7 separate regions of the Homo sapiens genome follow, and all the other regions are linked to region 5. The links are contacts of gene promoters, found by promoter capture Hi-C in blood cells and fetal thymus (Javierre and others, 2016). All regions are on one chromosome and are shown on one strand. The core of a region is centred on a gene start or on the middle of the fragment in contact, and the rest is flanking DNA. Distances in the headings are between cores, read along the strand shown. Region 1 overlaps GFPT1 (glutamine--fructose-6-phosphate transaminase 1). Region 2 overlaps GFPT1 (glutamine--fructose-6-phosphate transaminase 1). Region 3 holds the start of NFU1 (NFU1 iron-sulfur cluster scaffold). Region 4 holds the start of GFPT1 (glutamine--fructose-6-phosphate transaminase 1). Region 5 holds the start of ANTXR1 (ANTXR cell adhesion molecule 1). Region 6 holds the start of PROKR1 (prokineticin receptor 1). Region 7 holds the start of LOC124907821 (a long non-coding RNA gene).

Region 1 (2,700 bases), core at 90-2,589, 330 kb after region 5:
CCCTTGGTAACCATTAATCTACTTTCTCTTTCTGTGAATCTGACTATTCTAGATATCTTATATAGGTAGAATCACACACTAAAGAACTTTTTCCAAGATGGCTGGGCTCCACTGATGGCTGGCAGCTGTAGTTGTTCTACAAGGCTATTAAGGGCAATGAACTTTCAGGTTGTTAATGGCACCTCCTACTGTCAGAGACACTGAAATAATAAAATAATTCATATGTAATTACCAGTATAGTCATCAAAGTTGACTCTTCCTCTCATTGTGTTCACGACAGACTCTGGCTGCTCAAATATTTCCTTCTGCATAAATGAACTGAAGTTGCCTATAGTAATAGAAATCACATAATTAAAACAAAAACAAATCAAATAAAAGAATTTGTACACAACTAAAAGTTTCCTTTAATATAATCTTGGTAAATAAAATATAACAAAAGTTCATGCAATAGACATGACTGCCTAAAAGATTGGGTGAACATATTTTACTCTGTGGAAAAAAATAACAGTAAAAGTCACTTTTAATTAACTTCATACTTGAAATGTGCAGTTACAACAAGTGAATGAGACAAGCTTTTTTTTTTTTGAGACGGAGTCTTGCTCTGTCACCCAGGCTGGAGTGGAGTGGCATGATGTAGGCTCACTGCAATCTTGGCCTCCTGGATTCAAGGGATTCCCCTGCCTCAGCCTCCTGAGTAGCTGTGACTACAGGCGTGTGCTACCACGCCCGGCTAATTTTTTGTATTTTTAGTAGAGACAAGGTTTCACCATACTGACCAGGCTGGTCTCGAACTCCTGACCTCATGATCCAACCACCTCGGCCTCCCAAAGTGCTGGGATTACAGGCGTGAGCCACCGCACTCAGTCAACTGGGACAAGCTTTAAGTTTTGGAGTGCAACCCACCCAAACTGTAGTTCTATCCTTTACTATCTAAACTGGGGAAATTATTAATCTATAAAATAAGAGACCAATTACTTCACAGTATGGATTGTAGTATGGATTAATAAAGCAAAAAATCTGACATATATATATATAGAGTTATGCAATAAATGTTATTTCTTATTTTTACTTTTTTTTTTGAGACAGGGTCTTTGTCACCCAGACTGAAGTGATCACCGCAAGATCACCGCTCACTGCAGCCTCAATCTCCTGGGCTCAAGCAATTCTCACACCTCAGCCACCTGAGTAGCTGAGACTACAGGCACACACTACCATGCCCGGCTCATAGTTTTGTTTTGTTTTGTTTTGTTTTGTTTGAGACAGAGTCTCACTCTGTCGCCCAGGCTGGAGTGCAGCGGCACGATCTCACCTCACTGCAACCTCTGCCTCCTGGGTTCAAGTGATTCTCCCACCTCAGCCTCCCCAGTCACTGAGACTACAGGTACATGCCACCATGCCCATAATTTTCTTTGTATTTTTAGTAGAAACAGGGTTTTGCTATGTTGCTGAGGCTGGTCTTGAACTCCTGAGCTCTGGCAATCTGCCTGCTTCAGCCTCCCAAAGTGCTAGGATTACAGGTGTGAGCCAGTGCACCTGGACTTTTTTTTTTTTTAGTTTGTAGTAGAGATAAGGTCTCACTATGTTGCCCAGGCTGGTCTCAAACTCCTGAGCTCAAGTGATCCTCCTACCTTGGCCTCCCTAAGTGTTGAGATTACAGGCATGAGCCACCGTGCCTGGCCAATGTTAGTTTTTATTCCTACCACAATCCCATCAGAAAGGAATAAAATAATCCAAATCATAATAATTATAATAGTTAACAGAAGCAAATATTACATACGACTAAGTGTGTCAGACACTGTTTTAAGCTTCTTTTTTTTTTTTTTGAGACAGAGTTTTGCTCTTGTTGCCAAGGCTGGAGTGCAATGGCGCAATCTCGGCTCACTGAAACCTCTGCCTCCCGGGTTCAAGCCATTCTCCTGCCTCAGCCTCCCGAGTAGCTGGGATTACAGGCATGCGCCACCACACCCAGCTAATTTTGTATTTTTTAGTACAGTCGGGGTTTCTCCACGTTGGCAAGGCCAGACTGGTCTCAAACTCCCCACCTTAGGTGATCTGCCCACCTCGGCCTCCCAAAGTGCTAAGATTACAGGTGTGAGCCACCGCACCCAGCCATATAGTAGCTTCTTAATCCTCAAAACAACCTTAATGAGGCAGGCTATATTATCCTCATGTTATATATAAGAAAACTAAAGCACAAAGAGAATAAAAAGGAACAGAACATTAACTATTTTTATGTTTATAAAGTATCTTTAAAGTATCAAGTGTTAATAACCTTTTTATAATGTTACAAATAACAAATCATTAATTAGTTTGAAGACGATTGTAAAAACAGCAGATAATTTCTCTAAAGAATCATCCCTTTTCCTAGCGTTGTCCCTTCACTAATCATGTGGAAGATTCCACTCATCATTCATTACTAGATTTAATATGCTAGGAAAGGAAGTAGAATATATTCTTTCCAGTAAGGACAGCAAGCTATAACATGACAAAAACTTTCACCCTTCATGATCTGCTGGAGTTCCATCTGGAGTGTTTGCACAGCTCGTCCGGGGTGATCTCCTGCAGTTCGTTTAATTCGATGGATAGAAAGACGTCCATCCACTACTGCTGCAACATCATCATCTTCCAGAAAGATGACGCGATTGGTGTGTTCTATGACAGCACTATAAAGTTTTCAAGGAGATATTACAATCGATAACC
Region 2 (2,700 bases), core at 106-2,605, 310 kb after region 5:
GATGAGGTCAGCGACCTGCAAATCTTCCAAACAATTGCAAGTAACTTCCAAACTGGCACTAAGGGACTAGTTTTATGCAACAATGTAATGAAGGAAAGTTAAAATTAACTACAGGAAATTCTTCCTCGTGACAAAGTTGAAGAGAATACTGAATATATCAATATTAATTTAATAGCAGCTCTGTGTTGTGATTTTAAAGAACAAGATAAAATATGTCATTCAGCAGTCATTTAAAAAATAAAAGACTACAGATACAAGGAAATAAAAACCACTTTTAGGAGATGAAAACACAAAGTAGTAGGATACCCAACATGTACACATCCCATCTTCAAATTTAAAATCATATTGTCAGTTGTCCAAAGCAGCTTGAATTTAAAGTTTGTGCTATAAAATTGTGCAAATATGTTAAGGATTGAGACCCACCAATGCACTACTGTAATATTTCGCTTCCTAAATTTCTTCCACCTACAGATAATAGACAACAAGTCTGAGAAACTAAGGCTAACCAAACTTAGATATAAATCCTACCAATAAAATTTTTCAGTTTTAAGTTTTACAGTTTGATTTAAAAACAAAACAGAAACAAATTTCAAAATAAATCACATCTTCTCTTAAAACTTGGCAAACCCTTCCCTAACTGTCCAAGTATGAGCATACACTGCCACTGGCTTTAGATACTCCAATTAAATGCACTACTCTTTCACTGGTCTGAATGAAGTATGGTGAAACAAGTACCAATTTTTAGAAACATATTGTCTTCTCAGATTGAAGTGGAGGGTCCAGAAATGCAACACCCAGCATTCTTTAAAGAAAATAATAGCTAGAATCTTTCTGATACAGATTCCAATATAGATTCCATTATTCAAAGTCCTCCACAAATTACTGGGAAAATGTAAGAGGTAACTTCACAAAAATCACATATTGAGTGGAATAATTATAACTGATATATAAATAAGGATTTACTAAAAAAAGGCTTCAAGGGGTGATATTTTAAATCAAGGTTTTAAATACAAAAGGTGTCTTGTGTTGCTTAATCATACAGTTTCGTACATTTTGTATAGATATTCCTCACTCTACAGTCACAGATTTGGCAAGATTCCGTGGGAAATCAACCTGCAAAAAGAAAAAAAAAAAAAGCAAGATTTGAGAGATTATATAGACTGGGGAAGGGGGTGGTTACTATAAGCAAATTATTTTTGTTTATAAAAACAGAAAACAATACATTCATTAACCATCTTTATTACAGACTACAAAGAATTAGATTAGAAAATATAATCACATAATGTGTCCTGAAAAAAACTGAAATTGGTTAGGAAAAAGCATTCTAAAGGTGCCAGTTCACACAGAAAGAGCTACTGTGGTCCTCTACAGAAGTAGTAGCCCTCATAGGGGACACTAAAAACAAAAGCACTATGTTTTGGTTGCCACAATGGCTGAGAAACCAGGAATGCTACAAAGTCTTCAATGTGTGGGACAGTTCCAAACAAAAAAGAATTGTCCTGCCAAATGCCAATAGCTGCCCTGTTAAGAGATAGAGGTTATATTAAGAAAACAGGTGGAGACTACCCAAGGTGAGTCACAATCTTGGAGGTGAACCCCAAGGTTCCTTCAAGTTCTATGGGTAAGAAGATGTTGTGATGTAACCTACAAATTGGGCCATGAAAATATAACAGGTGACAGATATATATTTGATAGATTTCTCAAACACTATTGTTAAAAATTTAGGAGAAAAAAATCAGAATGTATCCAGGTAAAAAACCATCCCAAGATTTCTGCAGTGGTAGATGACTTACATCATAGCCTCTCAGCACAGCAAGGTGGAAAGCCAGCAACTGTAAAGGGATCACGCTGAGAATGCCCTGCAAGCAGTCCACTGAGTGGGGCACCTTGATCGTTCTTTTTGTGTTCTTAATGGTCTCAGTATCCTCCTTATCACAAATTACCACAGGCCGCCCCTAGGAAAGAAAATCACACACATACACAACATCACTGGTGGGCAAAGGCAGGGCTATAGCTTACGAATGTGCAAAAATTGCACTGCATAATCCATATGAAGCCTCACGGACAGACTTCTTTAAATTCCTGTGTAGTAAATCTGATTGTTATTACTTATAGTCGAGGAAACAGAAGCGTTATGGGATCCAGTAATTTGTTTAAACTCATGCAACTAAGAAATACCAGGCTTAGTACTTGACTGCAGGTTTGCCTAACTTCAAAGCTCAAGTTCATTACCACCACATTGTGCTTAGGGAATAATATCTTTTGGAATTTATATATAAAGCCAACTGATCTGAAGAAAACTCAATTATATAATATTAAAATAAAACCTAGATGTTAGATTTCCCCTGAAATATATCGCGTGTGTGTAATTTTTTTTAATTTATTTTATTTACTGTTTTAGAGACAGGGTCTCACTATGCTACCCAGGCTGTATTCAAACTCCTGGACTCAAGTGATCCTCCTGCCTCAGTCCCCAGAGTAGCTGGGACTACAGTCATGTGCCACTGCAACCAGCTGAAATATATATTTAAAAATATTTTAAAATACATTTTTAAATGTTTTAGAAGTATTAAATTAAAAAGGAACAGCATATGTTAACTAAAAGAAGACAGGATGTGGAGACCAAGACCTCAGTTCTGGTCTTGGTTCTGCCCAATATGAGATCTATGACCTTGGTCTTCTTAAAGCTCTAAGTATCTG
Region 3 (2,700 bases), core at 29-2,528, 420 kb after region 5:
AGCTGCTAGCACAATGGCCTCAGTTCTTCATCTCTACAATGAGATTAGTTTCACAGCTACCTCATAAATAATCCAGAGAATCCATGTAAAGTGCTTAAACCAGTGCCAGGCCATGCAGTAAGTGCTCAATAAATGGCAGCTGCTACCATTATTTAATTGGTGCCCAATAATTACTAATTGAGTGCAGTTCAAGGTTTGGGGTAAAAATGCCTTTTTCTATAGCTCAGTATCTAAATCTGTGAATACTCTGGAATTTGGAAATGCACTAGAAGAATAATATTCTCGTCCCTTCAGCCCAGGGAAAAGGCAGCAGAATGAATAAAGAGGAAGCACATTCCAACATACAGGTTTAAAGTCTTGTTTTTTTAAAGTAAGAGTGGATTACATTATTCAAGGAAGACATCTACTCAAACACAGGAGGTAACTAACAAAAAATTCTACCAACTTAAATCTTTTTAGGATATACATTTAAACTTCAAGAGCACCATTAACACTACAATGTCTAATACTCTAGAGGGCAAACTCTCCGTAGGCCATTTTCTCCAGACGTAAAATTAAGGTACACCTACATAAATGTCCTCTTAGCAATGTTCACAGAAGTCTTTGAAAGGTGAAACTCAAAGGTAGGGCTCAGGGAGGCGGAAAAAACAAGGGAACAGAGTGGGCTTAATGGTGGTGGGTGCAGGGAATCTAGGGGTCCTGGTTCTCGTCGGAATTCCATCACTTAGAAACTGTGTAACCTTGGACATGTCACCTCCTCTTTCAGGGCCTTACTGGGAAAATGAGGAAACGAGACAAGGTATTTTCTTCCCTTCTGTGTGACATTCTGATTCTGCGTTTAGAAGAGGAGGGAATGCACCCGGTAGAGGGCCTGGGGGCGGGAGAGGCACACGATTTTAAAACAGCTCCTCCGTTCTGGCTCTACAGCCAGTCTCTACAAGCTTCCGTACCGCAGAGACTCAAGAACTGGGTCTCTGAGCCTGAGAGGAAGCTCCAGAGAGTCCGCCCGGATTAGGCCACAGAAGCGCCGAGCTCCCGCACAGACAGCCTCAGGGCTCACCCCCAACTACGGCGACAGGGCGGACCCGCCGGCTCCATCAGATGCACTACCCACCCGCCTCGAGAGAGGGTCTGCAAGGCGGCGACCGCTCCGCTGGCTAAGCCCAGCGGCACACCTATTCGGAGCTCCAGGCTCGTCACCTACCGCCTGCGCAGCCCGGCGGCAACAGCCGCAGCTCCCCAGCCCCGCCTGGCCGTCGCCGCCATCTTAGTCCGGAGTGCCTAAGGGTCTCCCTGACAGAACCACGAAAGATCTGCGCAGCCGCAGGCTGGCCGGTAGCTGGGCGGGCACTGGGAAGAGCCCACCCTACCGGCTGCGGGCGGTCCTGCTGCGGATAAGTGCGGTGGCCTACGCGCCGAGGTTTGCAGGCTACTGCGTCACCCTGACCAAGAGAGGCCGGGGAACCTTTCCCGTTTGCGCCAACGCTTGGTTAATTCACGCAGCACTGTGAACGCATGCGTGTTTCCGTACTTTGTTTTCCCTGTTGGCTAGGTTTTTAGCTGGTGCTGGTGCTGCCTTGCGAATGCTGTTTCCAGCCCCTAAACCTGACCCATTCCCTCCTCTAGGACCCTACTCAGCCTCCAGGCCCAGCTCAGTGACTGCCCCCAAAGACTCCCTGGAGCATTCCTTCTAAAAGGTTCTCGCATTTCTCCTGCCCTTTTCCCATGGGTCTGATGTGGAACTGTGTCTAACCCTTCCTCATAGCTGTGCTTGTCAGCTGCCACTTGGTCATCTTGGACCAACCCGCACAGAGGATGTATCTGGTACAGTGCTGCCCTTCTCCGATTAACATGAGACTTGACTAGTTTCCAGGGCAGAGTGCCAAAGCCCATTACCTATTCTTCCAGAACCTTCCTGGAGTATTCCGTTTTCTCTAGGACAACGGTTCTCAAAGTGCGGACTAGGGGCCAAAAAAAAGCAGGAGAACACGTTAGAAATGCACGTTAGAACATGTTAGAAATCCTGGGCCCCACTTTATACTTACTGAGGCACAATCTCTGTAGGTGGGGACTAGAAATCTTTGTTACTTGCTTTTTTTTTTTTTCTTTTTCCAGAGACAGGGTCTATCTCTGTTGCCCAGGCTGGAGAGCAGGAGTGCGATCATAGCTCACCAAAACCAACTCCTGGGCTCAAGTGATTCATCCTCCAGCCTCAGCCTCCCAAAGCACTGGGATTACAGGTGTGAGCCACGGTGCCTGGCTTTTATTAGCAGTAGTAGTAGTAGTATTTTTGTAGAGAAGAGGTCTCCCTGTGTTGCCTGGGCTGCTCTTGAACTCTGCTGGCCTCAAGTGATCCCTCTCACCTGGGCCTCCAAAAGCTCTTAGGTTACCTCACCCTGCCTAGTAGTGTTTTAACAAACCCTTCCCAGGATTCTGATGCCAGCTAAAATTTGAGAATCACTGTTCTGGAAGACAGAGGACTGGTTTCCAGAATGGAAACAGCACACCTGTTGTTGAACAGGTTGAGGCCACACCCAAGACAACCCTAGTAATTTCTATGGCCCACAGACACATCTAAGAGGGTGGGTGGGTTTCAGGCCTGCAGCTCGCCCGGGCCCGCACACTGAGTGGGCTGTGCCTCCTACGAGTTTGGTTCATTCCCAATGCTGCGTACTTGCTTTTAACTACTAGTGATCTTCC
Region 4 (2,700 bases), core at 147-2,646, 370 kb after region 5:
GTGGGTTTTTTTTTAATCTACTCTAAATTTAAACCTGCTCCTCATTTTCAGAAGCTGAAATGAGCATAAAGTTAAATACAGGAAATATATACACTAACGAGTACAATCCACCTCCTGTTCAGTTCCTTCGTGTAAAAGGCTGCAAATAAGAAGTCTCCCAGAGAGTTTTCAATTCTCTTACAATGGTACTTCCCTTTAAAAAAAAAAAAAAAAAGTGTACTTTCTTCCAGGGATAAAGTCGGTTGTAAATTTCAATAAGAAAGGTAAGAATACAATTATTTTTACTGGCAATAGCCAAATTAACACCAATTTTAGAAGATATCAGTCATGTCAGACACGATTCTCAAAGTCTCTTTCACTAACACTTAGGTCATAATAAACGACTCTCAAAACATGGAATAAAAGGGCCTAACCTTAATTTTTTAAGGCTCTAGGAAAGATATTTGCTCAACTTTCCATAGCTAGTATTTTTAATGGATGCACATGCAAGGGATAAATGATATTTTTCATAGTTGGTATTCTAAAGGGGTATACATCCAAGGTATAACTGATATTTTTCAGAGCTGGCATTTTTAATGGGTGCACACGCAAATGATAAATTATGTATAACCTATCGCCACAGACATTTGAAGGCCTCTTCCACCAGAGGATCAGGTCTAAGCCCATGAACCAAGTTATTGATTAGCAATGGTTTCTGTTGAGACAAGGGATGGCAGGAAGTATCACGTTTAATGGCACTACCGTGGCTCTAGCTAGGGTCTGTTTTCTATTGGGCCTCCCCAGAAACAAGTAAAATATTTTTTTAAAGATTTTTAGAAAAATGCAAGGTAAGTTCAAGAGACCTCGCCCGAGGTTCCACAGGTTTCCTCACTCACCTGGTGGGCCCTTTTGAAGGCAACCCCCTCCACACCTCAATTCCCTCAGCTCTCTCCTCCTTTTTCAATAAAGGCGTTTCTCTCCCCTTTCGGTTCCTTCTCCGCGCCAAGGCGCCCGCTAGCCCCCGGCAAAGGGGGCCCGCCTTCCTCTCAGGTGCCTTTCTCCCGGCCGCCACCCCCTCTCCCGCCCGTGGATGCCGGCCCCCGCCCCCGCAGCCACCACTGGGCGCCCCTTGCCCATCACCCAGACTTCGCACCCTCCACACTCCCGCTTCCGCCCGTCGCCTTGGGCCTTAGCGGCACCCGCACCGCACCCCAGCGCCACCCGGCAACACGCCCCCCGCTCCCGGCCCCCTTACCACACATGATGCCGGAGACACGGCCCGCGAGGCCAGGGGCGAGTGGCTGGCGGGATCGGGGGTGCACACACGAGCTTCGGTGGGCAATCTGCGGGCTCGGGGGCCGGGGTGGCGCCGACACGACTCCCTCGGGGATGCGACGGCCAAGGCAACGACAGCCTTCTCCGCCTCCCGGGCTCCGCCAGCAACCGCCGCCGGGCCCCGCCCCTCGGCGCGCAGCGCGCCGCCGCCCGTAGGCTCCATTGAACCGCTCACGCGCCGCTCACGCGCAAGTCCCGCCTCCCAGCGCTGCCCCGCCCCCCGAGCCCACGCAGGCGCTGGACTGCTGGCGGCGGCGACGTGGCAGTGGCTCGTGGCCGCGTCCGCCTGGAGTTCCTGGAGACGCCCGCCCCGGGGCGAGCCGCGGGAGGGACCGAGCCGAGAGGGAGGGAGAAACTCAGCACCTGGCAGGGAATGACGGAAAGAGAAGGATGGAATTGTTAGCAAAGCAATAGCCCGGGTGCGTGCCCCGTGCAGCCCCAGGCCCCAGGCGCCAGCACTGCACGAAGCGAGGAAAGAGGAGGAAAAAAGCAGGAAGTATGAAAAGGGAATCCTGGGGAACATAAGGCTGAAAAAAATTGCAAAGAATTAGGTTGAGGTGGGAGGAGAGAGATAACAAAATTCTTGACTGTAAAGCCCCAAAGGTCAGCCTCTCTGGTAATAAGCAATTCAATTCCTTGTGTAATATGCTTGGCCCCTAAAAGCCCTCCGCATCCGTTGCCTCCATAACCCTCAGTTTATTGTGGAGGGGTAGAGGAGGAATGTAAGGCTCAACTATCCGACTATGAGCCTGGACGTAAGAAACTGCTGGCCCACCTCCTCCCATGACCCACCTGAGACGGCTAGGAATTCCCTAGCTTTAACAGCCGCGCGTTTGACTTACGAACGATTCATTCTATGAATTAATGCGCCATGTCTGACAAGAGAGACTTGATTAGAGAGGGATGATGTTTCTGAGAATTTATTACCTGGGCATTTGCTTTAAACAGCCTTAAATGGTATCTTTAGTCAAATGTGGAGTAATCAGAACTCTATAATGGCTCTAGAGTAGAGTAGTATCAAAAACGTACATGGCACACAGAATTCCTGGAGTGCTGACTGCTGTTCATGTGTCTGGTCTTAGCCTGCTGACTGCTGTTCATGTGTCTGGTCTTAGCCGTCCTTCCAGCCCTATACACTCCCAACAGGCTCAACAGGTAGTTCCTCAACTGGGCCAAGATTCTCAAATCTTTTGCACACTTTGGTTACTCTGCATAGAATCCCCACCACGTCTCTGTTTAGATGCTACCTCTTCAGGAAAGCCTTTTTTATCCCCCCTAGACAGACTTGGAGACATGCATTAACCTCTTACTCTTTGAGCTACTCACTGTAAAGAAATATTCTTTGATATTTTATGATTTTCTGTATTTTCCCACTGGGCTGTAAGT
Region 5 (2,700 bases), core at 5-2,504:
TGGCCTATCCTCAGAAGCCACACACCATCTTCTTAATTACTCACAGGTCAGTCTCACCCAAGGTGGAAGGGGTGTGAATTCCAGGAGGTGAGAAACACTGGGTTCATTTTGGAGGCAGGTCAGTGCTACGCATGACAAATCTTCAAGGCTGATTTGACAACATGATTATTGGTTAGTGGAGCATTCCAAGACACTAAGATTCCATGGTACACATGTTGGGGGAAACCACCATGGACTGTCACATTGGGGTATAAGGGTCTGGGAGGCACACAAGTGGAGGGGAATATGTGTGTCTGGAGGAAGAATCCTGGGAAAACAGTACATGCATATGCACTGAGGGCTCCCAGAGCGGAAGACAATAGGAAGCTAGAACTGGGGTACCACTCGGAACTGGGGCTCAGAGGCTGATTCTCCAATTTAGAGAGGCTAGCACGGAACTTCCCTGCCAATTCCAAACTGCTTGGAGCGTCTCTACTCTTGTAAGCTGTTTACTTCCTCCATCCTAAATCAAAGATAGAGAGAAAATGTCAAAGTTCACAGGCTGAAAAGAAGAACTATTATCATAGAATCCCTAAAAGATGGAGATGGTGGCCATCTAGAAGGCTCAGCTGTTCCATGCCGGGAGCAGCCCTAAGTACCACACTCTGTGGGGTTGTTTGTGATGGTTTCAGACCGGACCCCAACAGTCTCTTTTATGGTCCAGACAGACTAAGACCATGTAAGGTCACTCTGATGACTCATACCACAAAGGTCCCGTTTTTCCCCTACTTCATCTGCACAATGGTTTGTTTGCAAAGGTCCTAGCCTGGGGAGCCGGAGTCACCGTGGTTGGAGGAAACAAATTCTCATCCAATGTTTAGTGACCTTATCAAAAGATGCAGGATAGGGAAGGAAAAGAAGGAATAGAAGGACTACAGAGAATGGAGAGGCGGTCACGGAAAAAGAAAGGGAAAGTGCGTGGGAAGAAGGAAGGAGTAAGAAAACACGCACAGCTCACATGAGAATGGTAAGGACAAGGAAATTTATACGCGAAGCCTGGAAGCGCCCCCGCCCCCGACGCACTCCCGCGGGTCCCACGCGTGCTTTCGCCGCCTTTGTCCACAAGGTGGCAGCCTTTGAACTTTCTTCCCCGTAAGAACGCGAAAGGGGGGCAGAGAGGAAGGAGAGAAGGCAAAGCACTGCCCCCACCAAGAACAATTTGAAACCCCCCCCCCCCCCCATCATATTTAAAATCTGGGACAAAGAACCGTCGGGACGGAACTCCTTCCATTGCAAAAGCTCGGCGCGGCCTCGGGAGCTGCCCGGCGGCCCCGGACCGAGGCAGCCCTCCCCTTTAAAAGAAGCGGAGGACAGGATTGGGATCCTTGAAACCCGAAACCCAGAAACAGCATCGGAGCGGAAACCAGAGGGGAAACCTTGAACTCCTCCAGACAATTGCTTCCGGGGAGTTGCGAGGGAGCGAGGGGGAATAAAGGACCCGCGAGGAAGGGCCCGCGGATGGCGCGTCCCTGAGGGTCGTGGCGAGTTCGCGGAGCGTGGGAAGGAGCGGACCCTGCTCTCCCCGGGCTGCGGGCCATGGCCACGGCGGAGCGGAGAGCCCTCGGCATCGGCTTCCAGTGGCTCTCTTTGGCCACTCTGGTGCTCATCTGCGCCGGGCAAGGGGGACGCAGGGAGGATGGGGGTCCAGCCTGCTACGGCGGATTTGACCTGTACTTCATTTTGGACAAGTAAGTGCCGCGAGTTGTCCCCCCCACCCCAGGCTAAGCGGGCGAAAACGCTTTCGCCCCGGGCCGGGCTCGTTGGCAGGGTCGCCTGGGGACAGGAGCGCATCTCCAGGGCCACAGAGGGACCGCGCGGCAGGCGGCGGCGGAGTGCTGCGCCTTTGTTGGGGCGCGCTCCTCCCAGCCTCGGCTCCAGAGCCCGCAGCCGAGGCGACGCCGCTTGCTCGGAAGGGGACAGACTTCTTTTCTGTCTTGCTTTCTGTGTCCCAGGAGCAGGCAAGGGGCTTGGAGGATGCTATTGTCTTGCTGAGTTTCTGTGACTCCCTCCCGTGTTGGTGGGAAAGGCTTGCTTACCAAAGGCAGAACTTGCAGGCACAGGCACTCCTAAAGTTAGAGGCTTGGGCATTTTAAAGCCAATCGTCGCATTTTGTTTTTGTTTTTGTTTTTTTGTTTTGTTTTGAAACGCTGTCCCACGGAAGGCATTATCTTTGCTCCTAATCATGTAATGCATACTTCTCACCGGGCACTGAGTGAGAATGAAAGGCAGGGTTTCTTAACCTTGGCACTTCTGAGATTGAAACCTGGTAATTCTTTGTGGTGGGGGCTGTCCTGCGCGTTGTAGGATGTTTAGCAGCATCCTTGGCCTCTGCCCACTGGATGCCAGTAACATCCCCCGCCCCCCACTCCTTCCTTATTAGTGGTGACAACTAAAAATGCCTCCAGACATTGCCAAATGTCCCTCCCCTTCGACTTGAGTACCCCAGATGTAGTGAATTCAAGCTCTTGGCCATTTGACTGGTGGGCTACCAGGGAGGTGCAGGAGCCCTGGTTTCCTTGCAAAAAGTGGTTAGGCTTTAGGATTTGCTCAAGGGAGAGCTGAATTCTGACCAATGAAGCACTTCCCAAATCCGCATAAGTTTGCCAAGCCACAGTCACCCAAGGAAGCTTCATGCTATCTGCTGAAAACCAGCTTCAACGA
Region 6 (2,700 bases), core at 51-2,550, 370 kb before region 5:
ATGACTGGGGAGGCCTCAGAATCAAGGCAGGAGGTGAAAGGCATTCCTTACGTGGTAGCATCAAGAGGAAACTGAGGGAGAAGCAAAAGTGGAAACCCCTGATAAACCCACAGGATCTCGTCAGGCTTATTCACTATCACGAGAATAGCATGGGAAAAACAGGCTCCCATGATTCAATTACCTTCCCCTGGGTCCCTCCCACAATACGTGGGAATTCTGGGAGATACAATTCAAGTTGAGATTTGGGTGGGGACACAGCCAAACCGTATCACCCTGCTTTTAATTTTTTGGGTTAGACACCCGGAAGTGGAAACACTCGATCATATGGTAATTGTATTTTTTAACTTTTTGAGGAAACCCTATACTGTTTTCTACAGTGGCTTCACCATTTTACTTTCCTACCGACAGTGCACAGGGTTCCAGTTTCTCCACATTCTCACCAACACTTGTTATCATTTCTTTTTACAGCTGGATAATATTCTATTGCATGTATATACTATATGTATTTTGTTAATCCACTTAGCTGATGGACATTTGGGTTGTTTCTGTCTTTTGGCTACTGTGAATAGTGCTGCCATGAACATCAGTGTATGTGTGTCCCTGCTTTCAATAGTTTGGGGTTACATACCTTGGAGTGGGATTGCGGGACTATATGCCTCACGTTTTGAGGAATCTATGGGCTTGTAAAGGTAGACTGTGCTCTGTAAGTCAGCGCTGTCCGTCCCAGCCTTCTAAGCAGACATCCCTGGGCGGGGGTCCTTCCTCTCTCCAGTGTGCTACCCCGCCCCCTTGTTTGCTCTCCAGAAAGCACTTCTCTGAGCCTCTTTTACGGAGAGGTAGGGCAGCTGGCAACAAAGATGGCCCTGGTGTCCGTTCAGGCTGGCCCAGGGGACCAGGTTGGGGCCGGCCCCTGAGTGTCCCCTGAGGAGGTGTGTGAGCAGCGGGGGAGGCTCCTCGGTCCTTTGCAAGCTCGCGGCTGAGCGGGGCCGTGTCCGTCCACTCCGACGGCGCTGGGCTGCCAAGGTGAGCCGCCGAGGAGCCCCGTGCCCCGAGGCGGGCACAGCCGCCCTGCATGGGTGCCCCCGGCGCGGGATTGACGCAGAGCCCTGCCCGGAGCCCCAGCGACCCCGTTCCTGCCCCAGGCGGCCGTTCCGAAGCCTGAGCCGGGCAACGCGCAGCCCGCCTGGCCCGGCTCCCTCCCGCGCGTCCTCGTCGCGAGCTGCCGCCTGGGAGCTCCAGACGCTCCCGCCCAGGGCGATCCGGACGCTCCCGCCCAGGGCGATCCCGGCCTCTGCAGCCCAGCTGGCGACACGCCTCGCCAAGAGCCCGCACCTCGGCGCCTCACGGCCACCGGAGGCGGGGACAGGGAGTCCGGCGCGGGCCGGGTCGGGGGATCTGCAGCGGCGGCGCGAAGGTAACTCCCCCGCCAGAGCCGGGAAAGAGCCCCGAGCAGAGGAGGAAGGGAGCGGGGACCTGCCCTTCGCCTGCCGGCTTCTGGAAGAAGCGTCTCCTGATCCGGCCCCGGAATAAGAAACCCGGACCTTGCCTGCCGGGCTCCGCGATGCCGCAGGTACAGAGCGCGCCCTCCCGGGGAGGATGCTCCAGGGACCCCGCGCTGCACTGGCTGCGGCCGTGGGGTGCGGCGGCTTCTGAGTGAAGAGGGGACTTTGCCAGGGATTCACTCCTGTGAGTTTCTTCAGGAGAGCCAGGCTTCCCCTCCTCTGTCCTTAGGGGAAGCTGCCCAGGCTCCAGGGAGAAAGTTGGGAGCAGGCGGGGGACTTGCCAGCAGGGGTTTGTGAGAGAGGCTTCTAGCGATCGAGAGGTCACCAGGTGGGGGTAGGATTGGGGTTCCCCTCTGAACGGTGAGAATAAAGGAGAAAAGACCTCTGGACAATCATCCTTAATCTCGTGACGCCCTCCTCTCCACCCCCGAAGCTTCTGTATTCTTTGCTTTTAAACACTACTTTGACCCTTCAGGTAGCATGCTTGTAGGGGTACCCCTCCAGGAGTGGCATGCCTCTGCGACCCACGGGACCTGCAAGGAGTGGGGCTTGTCCCGCCTGGGTTCCAAGCCTGCCCCCCTCCTTCTTTTCAGCTGAGTTCTGCCTCTCCTCCCTGAGTGGGCAGAGGGCAAGGGCTGAGCCAGACAGAATTGAGAGCTCGGAGGAAGGAAAAAATCAGGGTAAGGAGTTAGGACAGAGAGGCAGCAATGGGGCTGAGCCTCACTGGGGCGCAGAGGGACTTTAAACTTGGCCCCAAGAAGACAGGCTCCAGATGTTTTGCCTCGGAGGAATATGGAGAGCAGGCTTTCCTGGGGGTGGGGAGGTGGGGTCCTGGGCATCTTCCTCATCTTCCTTTCCCAGGAAAACTCTGGCTTGCATTCTTCCCTCTGTTCTCCTGACATTTGTTTTAGGGTGCTCTCCAGACCTCAGCCCTCCTTCTACGTCCCACTCCCTGGTCTGATGTCTTCAGGGTTTGGGAGGGACTGCAGGGAGAGAGCAGGGGACAGGGGGACTCTGGCTGCCTCCCTGTCCCCACCAGGGCAGCTGACACCCCCCTAGACCCCTCACCCCAGCCCCATTATGTGGTGTGGTGGAGTCCCTGTATCAGGATTTCGCTCCCCTTCCTTGCAGCTGACAGAGGAGGCCTGAGAGCGCAGTAGTAACTCCTTGCAGTTCTAGGGTGTAACACTCTCCTCCA
Region 7 (2,700 bases), core at 77-2,576, 270 kb after region 5:
CTGGAGTGTAGTGGCACAATCTCAACTCACTGCAACCTCCACCTGCTAGGCTCAGGCAACCTTCCCTGCCTCAGGCTCCCAAGTACCTGGGATTACAGGTGCTCACCACCACACCTGGCTAATGTTTGTACATTTAGTAGAGATGAGGTTTTGCCCTGTTACCCAGACTGGTCTTGAATTCCGGGGCTCAATCGATCCAACTGCCTCAGCCTCCCAAAGTGTTGGGATTACAGGCTTGAGCTACTGTGCCTGGCCTAAGCCATTTTATATAAGAGACTTAAGCACTGATAGACTTTGATATCCATGGAACCAATTTCCCCATAAATACTAACGGACAACTGTATGTATATGTGTGTTATTACATTTCCATTTTACAGATAAGAAAAACAAAATGCAAGAACTTAAGGTCACACAGTAAGTAGGTGAGCTGAGAATTAAACATGATCAAAACCTTTACCTTAACCCTTATATTACATGGTAGTGGTACTTAATAGGATTGTCATAAAGACCAAGTGAGATAATTCATGCAAATATTTAGCTCTGTGACTAGCACATATTAAGCACTCAACAAATTTAGCTACTATTGTTTGTTGTGGTGGTTCTGTATCCAGAATTATACATTTAATATTCATCACAAATTCTTCAGTTGAGGTCCTATTATTCCTATATTATAGATTTTTAAAAAGACTCAGAATTAATGATGTGACTGGGATTTCAAAGCAAGTTCTTGCTCCAAAAAACTGTCTTGTTCCAAATCCAAACTAAACGACCCCTATTTTCTATTTATTAATCTCCTTCTAACTCTATTCAAGAAAAGAATTTCAATCTGCCCTTGTTGGAAAAATTCCAGCCAAGCTCAGGAGCTAGATTGTGGTGGTTCTTTTGGAGGATTATGATGAGAGACAGGTGAAGAGGGCCCCACCCATGAGATGAAATGGATCTGGCAGGCCTTGAAGCTGCTTGGATCTCTGCAGGCCTAAGTACTAGTTTACATGGATTATAATAGAGCTAGGCCTGGCTAGAGGACCCTAACAAATGATATAAACTAAAACCCATTATGCCACTAAAAATAAACTACCGAATTGAGTCAGAGAAAAATCTCTCCATTAAACAGGGCTTGATGAAATTCTAACAAAAGTTCACACACAAGACCCAAAGACACAAGCAATAAGAAAAAGATAAACAAATTTGACTCAAATCGAATTTTTTAAGTATTTTTAAGCAGAAGATGTAACTAAGGCATCCTAGGCAAATGCAGCCTGGAAGTTGGCATTCACAGTGAGTATAACCGACAAGGAAGTGGTATCCAGAAAAACGTCTTTAAAGCTCCTACAAGTCAGTAAAAATAAGAAAAACTGCTCACCAGGAAAAACTGGGCCCAGATGTTCAGGCCTCCACCATAAGATCACAGGAAGGTTTGCATTTCACATCCTGTTTCTCAAGAAATATGGCCTACGCTTCTGTATTAGTCCGTTTTCAAACTGCTATAAAGATACTACTCAAGACTGCATAATTTATAAAGGAAAGAGGTTTTTAATTGACTCACAGTTCCACTTGGCTGGGGAGGCCTCAGGAAACTTACAATCATGGCGAAAGGGGAAGCAGGTGTGTCTTACATGGCAGCAGGGTAGAGAGATAGTGTGAGAGCGCAGGAAAAGCTACCATTTATAAAACCATCAGATCTCATGAAAATTCACTCACTATCACGAGAACAGCATGGAGGAAACCACCCCCATAATCCAATCACTTCACTCCTTCCACACATGGGGATTACAATTAGAGATGAGACTTGGGTGAGGACACAGAGCCAAACCATATCACCTTCAACTGAGCAATCTGCTCCTAGGTGTACATACCCTAACCTTCCAGGAGACATGAATCAGAATGTTCCCTGCAGCATTATTTGTAATAGTGAGCAATAAAAACACCTAGATGGATAAACAATTGGTGGCATATTCACAAAAATGAACTAGAGATAGTGGTATCTGCATGGATACATCTCATAAATATAATAGTTTAAAAAAGCAAATGGCATTTATTGTGGATCACGAGGTCAGGAGATCGAGACCATCCTGGCTAACACAGTGAAGCCCCATCTCTACTAAAAAAAATACAAAAAAATTAGCCGGGCGTGGTGGCAGGCATCTGTGGTCCCAGCTACTCGGGAGGCTGAGGCAGGAGAATGGCGTGAACCCGGGAGGCGGAGCTTGCAGTGAGCCAAGATCGCACCACCACACTCCAGCCTGGGCGACAGAGCGAGACTCCATCTCAAAAAAAAAAATTAAAATTAAAAAAAAAATAAATTATTCTCCAAACTTTTAGTAAGTCTGACATTTTTCATAATTAAAAAAACATAAAATCTTTTCTAATGAGAATTGTAGGGCCAGAGGCACAGAGGGTTCCTGGGGAAAGAATGTTCAATAAACAGCAAGCAGCAACTTTTTCCTGTGTCAAGTCTATTGGTCCTGCCAGGTGCCAGGAGCTGGAGGGTGATGAAAATGTTCAGACTCATTGCTGCCCTCAGATGGCTTGTGATCTAACTGGGTAAGAATCAAATCAGTGGCAATGCCAGTCAGGAGTGAAGCAACAAGGCCACAACAATATGTGGCAGTCACTCACCAGCCACCAGCCCACAGGAGCAGAGGCTCCTGGGACATCTGGCCACAGAGAAGTCAACACAACTGGCTCCTAAGCTGCAAG

What was found. Contacts are between HindIII fragments. The CHiCAGO score rates a contact against its expected background, and 5 or more counts as called.
Region 1: a fragment that was not itself captured here is called in contact with the fragment with the promoter of ANTXR1 in region 5 in 4 of 17 cell types (endothelial precursors, M0 macrophages, M1 macrophages and 1 more); the score reaches 9.8 in endothelial precursors.
Region 2: a contact is called between a fragment that was not itself captured here and the fragment with the promoter of ANTXR1 in region 5, in 8 of 17 cell types (M2 macrophages, M1 macrophages, neutrophils and 5 more). The highest score is 15.9, in M2 macrophages.
Region 3: the fragment with the promoter of NFU1 here is called in contact with the fragment with the promoter of ANTXR1 in region 5 in 3 of 17 cell types (M1 macrophages, endothelial precursors and M0 macrophages); the score reaches 7.4 in M1 macrophages.
Region 4: a contact is called between the fragment with the promoter of GFPT1 here and the fragment with the promoter of ANTXR1 in region 5, in 1 of 17 cell types (endothelial precursors). The highest score is 5.0, in endothelial precursors.
Region 6: a contact is called between the fragment with the promoter of PROKR1 here and the fragment with the promoter of ANTXR1 in region 5, in 5 of 17 cell types (total CD4 T cells, fetal thymus, total B cells and 2 more). The highest score is 6.9, in total CD4 T cells.
Region 7: a fragment that was not itself captured here is called in contact with the fragment with the promoter of ANTXR1 in region 5 in 6 of 17 cell types (M1 macrophages, megakaryocytes, M2 macrophages and 3 more); the score reaches 7.5 in M1 macrophages.

What each region holds. Positions count from the first base shown.
Region 1 is chr2:69,345,672-69,348,371 of GRCh38, forward strand. It overlaps GFPT1 (glutamine--fructose-6-phosphate transaminase 1), which reads right to left. Exons shown (of 20, transcript NM_001244710.2): 11 at 2,500-2,663; 12 at 233-328. Among named protein-coding and RNA genes, the nearest start is that of GFPT1, 40 kb to the right of the region's middle. The HindIII fragment of the contact is 927 bases long and covers 877-1,803 here.
Region 2 is chr2:69,325,121-69,327,820 of GRCh38, forward strand. It overlaps GFPT1 (glutamine--fructose-6-phosphate transaminase 1), which reads right to left. Exons shown (of 20, transcript NM_001244710.2): 19 at 1,794-1,955; 20 at 1-1,113. The coding sequence ends at 1,069. Among named protein-coding and RNA genes, the nearest start is that of GFPT1, 61 kb to the right of the region's middle. The HindIII fragment of the contact is 9,540 bases long and covers 1-2,700 here.
Region 3 is chr2:69,436,157-69,438,856 of GRCh38, forward strand. NFU1 (NFU1 iron-sulfur cluster scaffold) reads right to left here and starts at 1,279. Exons shown (of 8, transcript NM_001002755.4): 1 at 1,205-1,279. The coding sequence starts at 1,266. RefSeq lists an enhancer at 1,135-1,284. The HindIII fragment of the contact is 2,434 bases long and covers 940-2,700 here.
Region 4 is chr2:69,385,831-69,388,530 of GRCh38, forward strand. It overlaps GFPT1 (glutamine--fructose-6-phosphate transaminase 1), which reads right to left and starts at 1,397. Exons shown (of 20, transcript NM_001244710.2): 1 at 1,235-1,397. The coding sequence starts at 1,241. RefSeq lists silencers at 977-1,646, 1,707-1,816 and an enhancer at 1,189-1,748. The HindIII fragment of the contact is 6,543 bases long and covers 1-2,700 here.
Region 5 is chr2:69,011,925-69,014,624 of GRCh38, forward strand. It overlaps ANTXR1 (ANTXR cell adhesion molecule 1), which reads left to right and starts at 1,255. Exons shown (of 18, transcript NM_032208.3): 1 at 1,255-1,727. The coding sequence starts at 1,576. The HindIII fragment of the contact is 7,309 bases long and covers 1-2,664 here.
Region 6 is chr2:68,642,279-68,644,978 of GRCh38, forward strand. It overlaps PROKR1 (prokineticin receptor 1), which reads left to right and starts at 1,301. Exons shown (of 3, transcript NM_138964.4): 1 at 1,301-1,570. The HindIII fragment of the contact is 2,701 bases long and covers 1-1,933 here.
Region 7 is chr2:69,284,672-69,287,371 of GRCh38, forward strand. It overlaps LOC124907821 (a long non-coding RNA gene), which reads left to right and starts at 2,150. Exons shown (of 2, transcript XR_007086810.1): 1 at 2,150-2,700. The HindIII fragment of the contact is 2,743 bases long and covers 1-2,698 here.